Linked DNA regions of Homo sapiens: region 1 is linked to region 2. The links are contacts of gene promoters, found by promoter capture Hi-C in human tissues and cell types (Jung and others, 2019). All regions are on one chromosome and are shown on one strand. The core of a region is centred on a gene start or on the middle of the fragment in contact, and the rest is flanking DNA. Distances in the headings are between cores, read along the strand shown. Region 1 overlaps LOC101927060 (a long non-coding RNA gene). Region 2 holds the start of CDC27 (cell division cycle 27).

What was found. Contacts are between HindIII fragments. The study calls those that stand out against the background at their distance.
Region 1: a fragment that was not itself captured here is called in contact with the fragment with the promoter of CDC27 in region 2 in 2 of the 25 tissues and cell types used here (dorsolateral prefrontal cortex and hippocampus).

Annotation. Positions count from the first base shown.
Region 1 is chr17:47,075,992-47,080,834 of GRCh38, reverse strand. All of the region lies in intron 1 of LOC101927060 (a long non-coding RNA gene), which reads left to right. It overlaps LOC124904015 (a long non-coding RNA gene), which reads right to left. Exons shown (of 2, transcript XR_007065824.1): 2 at 4,558-4,843. Among named protein-coding and RNA genes, the nearest start is that of RPRML, 99 kb to the right of the region's middle. The HindIII fragment of the contact is 6,830 bases long and covers 1-4,843 here.
Region 2 is chr17:47,187,522-47,192,189 of GRCh38, reverse strand. CDC27 (cell division cycle 27) reads left to right here and starts at 2,895. Exons shown (of 19, transcript NM_001256.6): 1 at 2,895-3,044. The coding sequence starts at 3,018. It also overlaps a transcript of MYL4 not described here. RefSeq lists enhancers at 2,971-3,160, 2,691-3,287 and a silencer at 3,321-3,370. The HindIII fragment of the contact is 11,296 bases long and covers 1-4,668 here.

The DNA of each region.
Region 1 (4,843 bases), core at 310-2,809, 110 kb after region 2:
TTCGTCAGCAAACAGACATTTACAAACAGATATGTGCTAATAAGGGATAGGTGTCTGGTGTTTTTTAGTACAGCTGAAAACTATCATTATTGCTTTTCTCCCATCCCCTCCCACCTCTTTGGTAATCCCCTCCCCATAACCCCCTTTTTAACTATTTCAAGACAAGTGGTTTAATGACCTGATATAGTGGTTTAATTTGTTTAAGAACCTGATGGGATCACACGTGGTGGCTCACTCTGGTAATCCCAGCACTTTGGGAGGCCAAGGCAGGAGGATCATTTGAGCTCAGGAGTTCGAGACCAGCCTGGGCAACATAGTGAGACCTTGTGTTTACAAAAAATACAAAAATTAGCTGAGCATGATGGCACGTGCCTGTAGTCCCAGCTACTGAGGAGGCTGAAGTGGGAGGATCACTTGAGCCCATGAAGTGGAGGTTGCAGTGAGCCAAGATTGTGCCACCACACTCCAGCCTGGGCAACTAAGACCTTGTCTCATTAAAAGGAAAACACTATTAGAATATAATGGTTAATTGAACGTGTATTTAGAACAAAACAGTGTGGGTATCTGAGTTAACAGGAAACAAGAAAAATGCTGTATAATGCAAGCAAGCCATTGATGTAACTGTCATATTTGTTAGATTTATGGAAAAGTGCCTACTATGTCTCAGCAGCGTTCTCCATAGTAGGGTCACAATAGTGAACAAAAATCCTACCTTCATGAAGCTTACATTCTTGCAAAGTATTTTTTATATTAGCTTGGTATGGCTGAGCTCTATCTTTATCTAGACCCATGTCTAGAAAAAGTCTGTGGCTACTAAAAATAAGGGTCAAAATGCCTTTTTGACCTTAGTACTAGTCAAAGCCTTAAGAAAATGGCTTTCCTGTGAACAGTATCCGTTAAATTAGTAGGCCAAAAGTTAACGGTTGATCAACTGATAAAATGAACAGAATGATCAGGGTTTGAAGTGAAAGTTCTGTGGGCTGTCTAATCATTTAAACTTTTATTCCAAAAATTTCACTGGAGACTTCTACCTTCTTTCCAGATTGGAGATACATATATATATATATATATATATATATATATATATATATATATATATATATATATATATTTTCCAAACATTTGATAGAGCTACTTTAATTGAGGACACAGTTTTTATTATTAATTTATTCCCTTAGGGTAGTGTAAAAATTAAATCCTGATTTACTTATTTAAAAATTAGCTAAATCCTGATTTACTTATTTAAAAATTAGCTAGAACAAAACTAATAAACATTCTAGATTTGGTCAATATTTTGCTTTCTCAACTCTTCACAAAGGAAATTTTAAAGTGAGATTTGTAGAACTTGAACTGGATTGGTGACTAAGAATAACTAGGAGGTGACTGGATATGCCTGTACTGAGGAGAAAAACACAGTCTTTCTCTATCAGAGACACCTCTTCGGTGTCTGTTTCTAGGTTTTTATAGCCAGTAGTTAAGTGGGAATTTCTATATTTGAGAACTAGAGTCTCTTAGTAACAACTGAGATTAGTACAATAGTAGTCATAAGTGTTGCTTCATCTTTTTATATACATTCATAAATATATATATGTAAGTTTATATATGTGTATATGTTATGTTATTTTAGTTGCCTGTTATAAAACTGCCACACTTCATAGAACTTAAGATGCTATTGATTGTAAGATGTACCATTATTTTAAGTACAACAAAGAAATTATTTCCATTAAACTAGGGCATAACAGCAATTGTAAGATGCATCTTGTTTTAAAAGTTGTTGACGTGGGGAAAGTACCTCTTAGAACTGAAGAAATACTGTGTATCAATTCTCAGGAAACTTTGAAATTACACAGAAGTATAAAAGACACACCCTCCCCCCGCCCCCCCAAAACAAAACAAAACAAAACCAACAGCTCAAAATTATCTCGCTACCCACATTATGGTACATTTTCCTAGCACATGAATAATTTGTTTAAACACAGTCATGTTATATATGTGCCCTGAATATTTCCCAGTTGGTTTTTGGAAAACATTTTTAATGGCTGCCTGCTATTGGCTTTCCTCGTTGACTATTTAAGTTACGTTTATTATTAAAATTAAGTATGCCATGATAAACATCTTTATCTTAGTCAAAGGTATGAATGCTCTTTTATGTTCTTAATGCATACTTTAGAGAAGTATTTTGGTCGTGTCAGTTTATAGTCTCACTAGCTGTGTATAAGAAGATACCTCATTTGGTTCATGCTTTATTCTTCAGCTCATCACTCAGAAGTAATGACAGAGCAGTTTTCAGAAACTTTCAAAATATCTGAAAAGTATTTCTAAATATCTGGAAAATAATCTGGAGTTTTGTGTATACCGTCACACATTGCTTAACGAAAGGGAAACCGATAAATGTGTTGTTAGGTGATTTCATTGGTGTGTGAATGTCATAGAGTGTACTTAAATACAAGCTGAGGGTTGGGCGTGGTGGCACACGCCTATAATCTCAGCACTTTGGGAGGCCGAGGCATGGGAGGGCAAGGTGGGTGAATCACCTGAGGCCAGGAGTTCGAGACTAGCCTGGCCAACATGGTGAAACCCCATCTCTACTAAAAATACAAAAAAAAATTAGCCAGGTGTGGTGGCGAGTGCCTATAACCCCACCTACTTGGTAGGCTGAGACAGGAGAATCACTTGAACCCGGGAGATGGAGGCTGCAGTCAGCCAAGATCGTGACACTGTACTCCAGCCTGGGCAAGGGCAGAGCGAGACTGTCTCAAATACATACATATTTACATACATATAAGCTGAGGTGGTATGGCCTACTATACACTTAGAGAACATGGTATAGCCTATTGCTCCTAGGCTATAAACAAGTACATCATGCTACTATACTGAATGGTATAGGCAACTAGTGGTAAAGATTTATGTATTTAAACATATCTAAACATAGAAAAAATACAGTAAAAATATAGTAGAAAAGATAAAAATGGTACACCTGTATAGGGCACTTACCATGAATGGAGCTTGCAGGACTGGAAGTTGCTCTGGGTGAGTCAGCGGGTGAAGGGTGGCTGAATGTGAAAGGCCTAGGACATGACTGTACACTACTATAAACTTCATAAACACTGAACACCGAGGCTACACTACATTTATTTTAAAGATTTTTTCAATAATAAATTAGCCTTAGCTTACTGTAACTTTTTGCTTTATTAACTTTTAAAATTTTAAAACTTTTTGACTCTTTTGTAATAACACTTAGCCTAAAACACAACCACATTGTAATTGTACAAAAATATTTTCTTCACACCTTATCCTACAAGCTTTTTTCTACCTAAACTGTTTTGCTAAAAACTAAGACACAAACACACACATGAACGTAGGCCCACACAGTGTCAGATTTGTCGGAATTACTGTCCTCCACCTTCACATCTTGTTCCACTCTTAGGTCTTCAGGGGCAACAACACACACGGAGCTTTCATCGCCTGTGACAGTGCCAACAGAAGGACCTGTTGGAGGCTGTTTCACAGTTCACTGGGTTTTTTTTGTTTTGTTTTGTTTGAGATGGAGTCTCACTGTGTTGCCCAGGCTGGAGTGCAGTGGCATGATCTTGGCTCACTACAAGCTCCGCCTCCCGGGTTCACGCCATTCTCCTGCCTCAGCCTCCTGAGTAGCTGGGACTACAGGTGCCCACCACCACACCCAGCTAATTGTTTTTGTATTTTTTTAGTAGAGAGAGGGTTTCACCATGTTAGCCAGGATGGTCTCAATCTCCTGACCTCGTGATCCACCCGCCTAGGCCTCCGAAAGTGCTGGGATTACAGGCGTGAGCCACCACGCCCGGCCCGACAGTTAACTGTTTTTTAATTGAGTAGAAGTACACTCTAAAATAACGATTAAAAGTACAGTACAGTAAATACATAACACTTCTTCTTATCATAAAAAATAAGTTTTTTTTTTTTTAACAGTTAACAGTTCTTGGCCAGGCACAATGGCTCACGCCTGTAATCCCAGCATTTTGGGAGGCCGAGGCGGGCGGATCATGAGGTCAGGAGATCGAGACCATCCTGGCTAACACTGTGAAACCCCGTCTCTACTAAAAATATAAATATTAGCTGGGTGTGGTGGCAGGCACCTGTAGTCCCAGCTACTCGGGAGGCTGAGGCAGGAGAATGGTGTGAACCCAGGAGGTGGAGCTTGCAGTGAGCCGAGATTGCGCCACTGCACTCCAGCCTGGGCAACAGAGTGAGACTCCGTCTCAAAAAAAAAAAAAAAAAGTAACATAGTTCTTATTATCAACTATTATATTCTTACTGGACATAATTGTATGTGGTATACTTCTATATGAATAGGAGCACTGTAGGTTTCTTTACACCAGCATCACCACAAACACATGAGTAGTGCTTTGTGCTAAGATAGGAATTCTTCAGCTGTATTACAATCTTATAAGACCATCATTGTTTATGTGGTCTGTCATTGACCATAATGTTATTTGGCACATGAATGTATGCTGATTGTCCAAGAGTTTCATCATTCAAAGCGAATTGTATTAAGCACCATACTTGGACTTGGTAAAGTTTTGCTTCTAGTCATGGCTTTACTACCAGATGCTTACATGTCACAGCTATTTAACATGAACCTTGACAAGAAAAGTCACTCAACATTTCTGAGCTTCAGTTTCTTGGTCTGTAAAATACAACATCATAGATAATCTTTTACTTAAAGAAGATGGCTTAAAAAATCAGAAATGTGTTCTCCCACCATTCTGGAGGCCAGAAGTCTGAAATAATGGTGTTAACAGGGCCATGCTCTCTCTGGAGGCTCTAGGGAAGAATCCTTCCTTGTCTTTTTCCAGCTTCTGGT
Region 2 (4,668 bases), core at 1,646-4,145:
AGAGACAGGTTTTCTCCATGTTGGTCAGGCTGGTCTGGAACGCCTGACCTCAGGTGATCCGTCTGCATTGGCCTCCCAAAGTGTTGGGATTACAGGCGTGAGCCACCTCACCCAGCCAGGAAATGCTCTTTTTTAGGTTAAAAAAAGAAAAAAGGCTTTAGGCAAATTCTAAGCCTATAAGCCAGAGTGCCAAGCATCAGAGGCTCTTTAAATGCTGACTCTAGATCCATATTTTCACAAAGTATCATCTTTATGTATCCTCTGTGGTAAGGTCCTATATTTAGGTTTACAAAACTCTGCTGCACACATACAAGACTTGGGTTGGCAGCATGTTGTGTGAAAAAGAGCTGAGTCCGTAAATGACCACACAAGTTTAGCATGAGCAAACAGTGTCATGTGACTGCTAAAAAATGTAAATACAGGCTGGGCACAGTGGCTCACACCTGTAATCCCAGCACTTTGGGAGGCCGAGATGGGTGGATCATGAGATCAGGAGTTTGAGACCAGCCTGGCCAACATGGTGAAACCCCGTCTCTACTAAAAATACAAAAATTAACCGGGCGTGGTGGTGCGCACCTGCAATCCCAGCTACTCGGGACGTTGAGACAGGAGAATTGCTTGAACCCCGGAGGCGGAGGACGCAGTCAGCCGAGATTGCGCCATTACACTCCAGCTCTGGGCAACAGAGCAAGACTCAGTCTCGGAAAAAAAAAATGTAAATACAACTGTAGTCCACTTTAATAGACGTGTCCAGATAATAATAGTCCAACTGCATTCTGAATTATTCAGAATAAATCTGGAGTACTGTGTTCAGTTGAAAGGGTCACATTTTAAGAGTGATAGCTCTTACTTATCCCTTTCTTTCCATTCCCAATCTTAGATACTCTCATCTCATATCTAGCGTGGTAGATTGTTTCCAAAGATGACCCAAAAACTCCTCCCATGGCACACGCCCTTTGTGGTGTTACTTTGCCACTCTTCCCATTAAGAAGTAGACTATTCCTCCTGGTGAATCCAGGGTGGCTCTGAGTCTTACTCTGACCAACAAGAAGTGATGCTCACAGGCCTAGGCCTAAGGGACCTCACAGCTTCTATTTTTGCGCACTTTGTTGTCAACCACCAAGTCAAGAAGCTGGAGCTAAACTACTGACTCATAAGAGGCCAGTGTGAAAAGAGAGGTCATGCAGAGAAGAAATGAAGGACCCAGCCAATAGCTACCACTGACACCCTAGACATGTGAGTGAAGCCATCTTGAATCTTTCAGCCCTAGCCAAGCCAGTGCTGGTGATGTTCTTCTATATCTGTGTGACTGTCCAATATGGCAGTCACTAGCCACATACAGGGCTACTGAATCCTTGGAATGTGGCTAGGGCATCTGAAGAACTTCATTTTTAATTTCATTTTAACTTAAACTTTAAATAGCTAATGGCTACTTTCCAGGCCAGTGTAAAAGTCTGTTACCACTCAAGTCATCCAGCATAATCCCGCTAAAGCAACTGGGCACAGGGCAGCCAAAAATCATCTTAGCACCTGCCCTTTAGGGGCTATAAGTATATATACAGTGACAAGACAAGGCGGTGGAGAAGGATGCAGTGTAGCTCTGTCAGCCTTGTTTTTAAAAATGAAAGAAAAAATATCTCCCTCTAACATCACCCAAAGGGAAATTTCCAAGCAATGGAATATATCATGATTCTCACATCTAGCCTAGAGAGCTCCTGACTAGAAAAGTAACTTTCAAAAACTGTTTCCTCATCTGCTGAAAAACAAAATTTAAACAGTCCCCTGGTTCACTCTTTTTGGGGGGAGAAGGGGAGCAGAAAGGAAATATGAGAGAGTCTACATTGCATGCTAGACACGGCCACATTTATAATACATCGAATTCTCTTAATCCTTTTTTTTCAAACTAAGCGAACATAAGTTCAGAGAGGTAATTTGCCAAGGACCTATGACTAGTTAGTGCTAAAGATAAAATTCAAAACCAGGCCTCTGAATTTCCGACCCCCTACTCTTCCCACCACAGCGGAATGCCTCACCTATCAAAAATAAAAATTTCTAATGGCCTATTGAGCTTTTCCATGATCTCTTCACCTAAGTAACTATTTCCAATTAATGCCTTCTTAGCAGACTGATCCCATTTTTCCTCCCTTCACTTTCCTATACTTCTTTTTCCTCTAATTTTACCCATCCTTCAAACTCCATTTTAAACTTTTTTTTCCTTCCATAGAACTTTCCTTATCTTATCACAATTGCCCTCTCTGAATTTTTATATTACTTATAATAGGCACCATATAATATAGCGTTCTCTGTTACACTGCTTTTCCCTTAAATAGACCTTAATCTCCTTGAAGACAGAAGCTATCCTATGTCTTTGGGGAGTGGCAATCTTTCCAAATTTCTTTAGCTTTCCCCCAGAGCCGTGAGTAGATACTTCTGGAATGGACGAATGATCTAAACTCAATAGACAAATACTTGTTGATTCATTAAAGACAGCCCCAAACTCTGCTGTTTCACCCTTTGCTTCATAATCTACAGCACACCAATTAATCCAAAAGGGCTGAGGGGCTAATCCACACTGCAGCCCCGCCACGTAACGCTACCCGCCCGCGCTGTCACGCCACGCCCAGCCTGCTGGTTGCAGATTTGGCGTAGCCCAACCCTGGGACGGCCGATTGGGCGTGGTGTGCGTGGCTGAAGGCGTGGCTGAGAAGAGAAACCTACGCTTTGGGTCAGACTCGGTAGCTTCCGGTAATCTTCGACAATTTCCGGCAACGGTTTTCTCTCTCGTCGACCAACCTCGGGTATTTCCGACTCCCTTCGGGCTTTTCCGTCTGGTTCCCGCTCGGCTTTCTCCACTTCGGGTATTCCCGTGTCCCGCTCGGAAGCACTCGGCAATCGCTCGGCCTCCCCCATCCCCCGGTAACGGTCGCTGGTGAGTTTAAATGAGCAGGGGCTGGCCGGGCCGGAGCCGCTACAGGGGGGGCCTGAGGCACTGCAGAAAGTGGGCCTGAGCCTCGAGGATGACGGTGCTGCAGGAACCCGTCCAGGTAATGATAACCTTCTTCTCTGGGGCTTGGCTGGCAGCCTCGGTCGGGAAGCAGCAGCGTAGGGCCACTCCGCGGCCTGGTGCGGCCTAGGCCCGGCTGCTTCTCCCGCCTCCCCTGCTGCCGTGTCCTGCCTATCTTTAGTCAGTTCGGAGGCCTTGCCCACAGCCTAAGCCGTGTTACCTCTGGCCCTACATTACTTCACCCTTAGCGTGAGCGGCTTCGGCGAAAATAACCGCCTTTCCCGTCCGAGCCAACGTCCGGCCAGCCTTTCCTGTCAGTCCAGGGGCCTGGCTTGACTGGGGGTGGGAGATGAGGGGCCGAAAATGCACCCCAAGCGCTCTCTTGCCTAAAAGATGATCGAGAAGCACATTTGATCGGAGCTTGTGTGATCTTCGTGACGGTAGGGCAAGTTTACGGAGGTTTTTTTTATTTTGTCTTGTATGAGAGGGTGGAGGGAGCGTAGGATCGGTCTTTTTAATACTAATTTCTATTTTGGTAACAGACTTCCTATCCCACGTTTCCTTTCTCGGTGAATTTCCCACCGGACAATGATGGTTTGAGAAGACAACTCCAAGCCTCAGTGCTGAGGCGCAAGCACCAATACCAGGGGAGGAGGTGGAAAGGGCACATTTGGGTTGTTTTCATCCTCTCTGATGGGGATCAGGAGCATTTTGTTGTGCATGTTTATAAGGCATTCAGGAAATGAAACACAAATAATGGTGTTTCTGTCCATTTCACTGCCTTTACACCAGGGTATGCTTTGACGCACAGTGCTGTGTTGCATTAAAGGAACCCTATTGGATTTTAAGTGTGTGATGCGGTGCCAAGTCATTTTCCCCCCTGACATCTGGAGAAACTGTATCTTTTGTGCCTTGGTAATGGACCAGGTCTGGGAGACTTCATCCCACTATATGATCTTTAACTTGATCAGAATTGACCTCTATCAACTGCTGTCATTGAGTCATGGACTTTATTTTGAAGTTATAAAGCAAACTGATTTTTAGAAATTCCTTCATATTGCCCTTAAAAGGCTTGAGGTATCAAACAGTAAATATTTTAATATATCACTACTTTCATATTTATTTCATTTTTCTAAACAGCATGAAATACTCATTTCTTCTAGTTTGGTTTTTTTCTCCAGCTGTTTACATATAGCAGCTATTAGTGTTTGAATTAATAAAACGTAAGATTATATCTTATGAAATTTACCTGTCTGTAAGTTGTATTAGTTTTTCTAGAGCTATTTCCATCCAAATTCTTTTTACCAGTATAGTTTCTTTTAAGATTTTTTTTTATTCTGGCTGTAGATGAGGTAATTATATATATATAATTTTTTAAGGCCTAACATGAACTTAAATAGATAAGCAGATTACTCAAGTTATTTAATTTCTGTTGCATATTCTTATAATTTTGTTTTAATAGTTAATGATTTTTTTTTTTTTGCCTTCTCTGGCCCCAGAAGTCTTCTAAAGTGATAAACTAGTTGCATTGATAGACTATAACCACCATTTAATAATAATTTCAGACTTTATAAAAGCATGGAAGGCCGGGCGTGGTGGCTTACACCTGAAATCCCAGCACTTTGGGAGGCTGAGGCGGGTGGATCACCTGAGGTCAGGAGTTC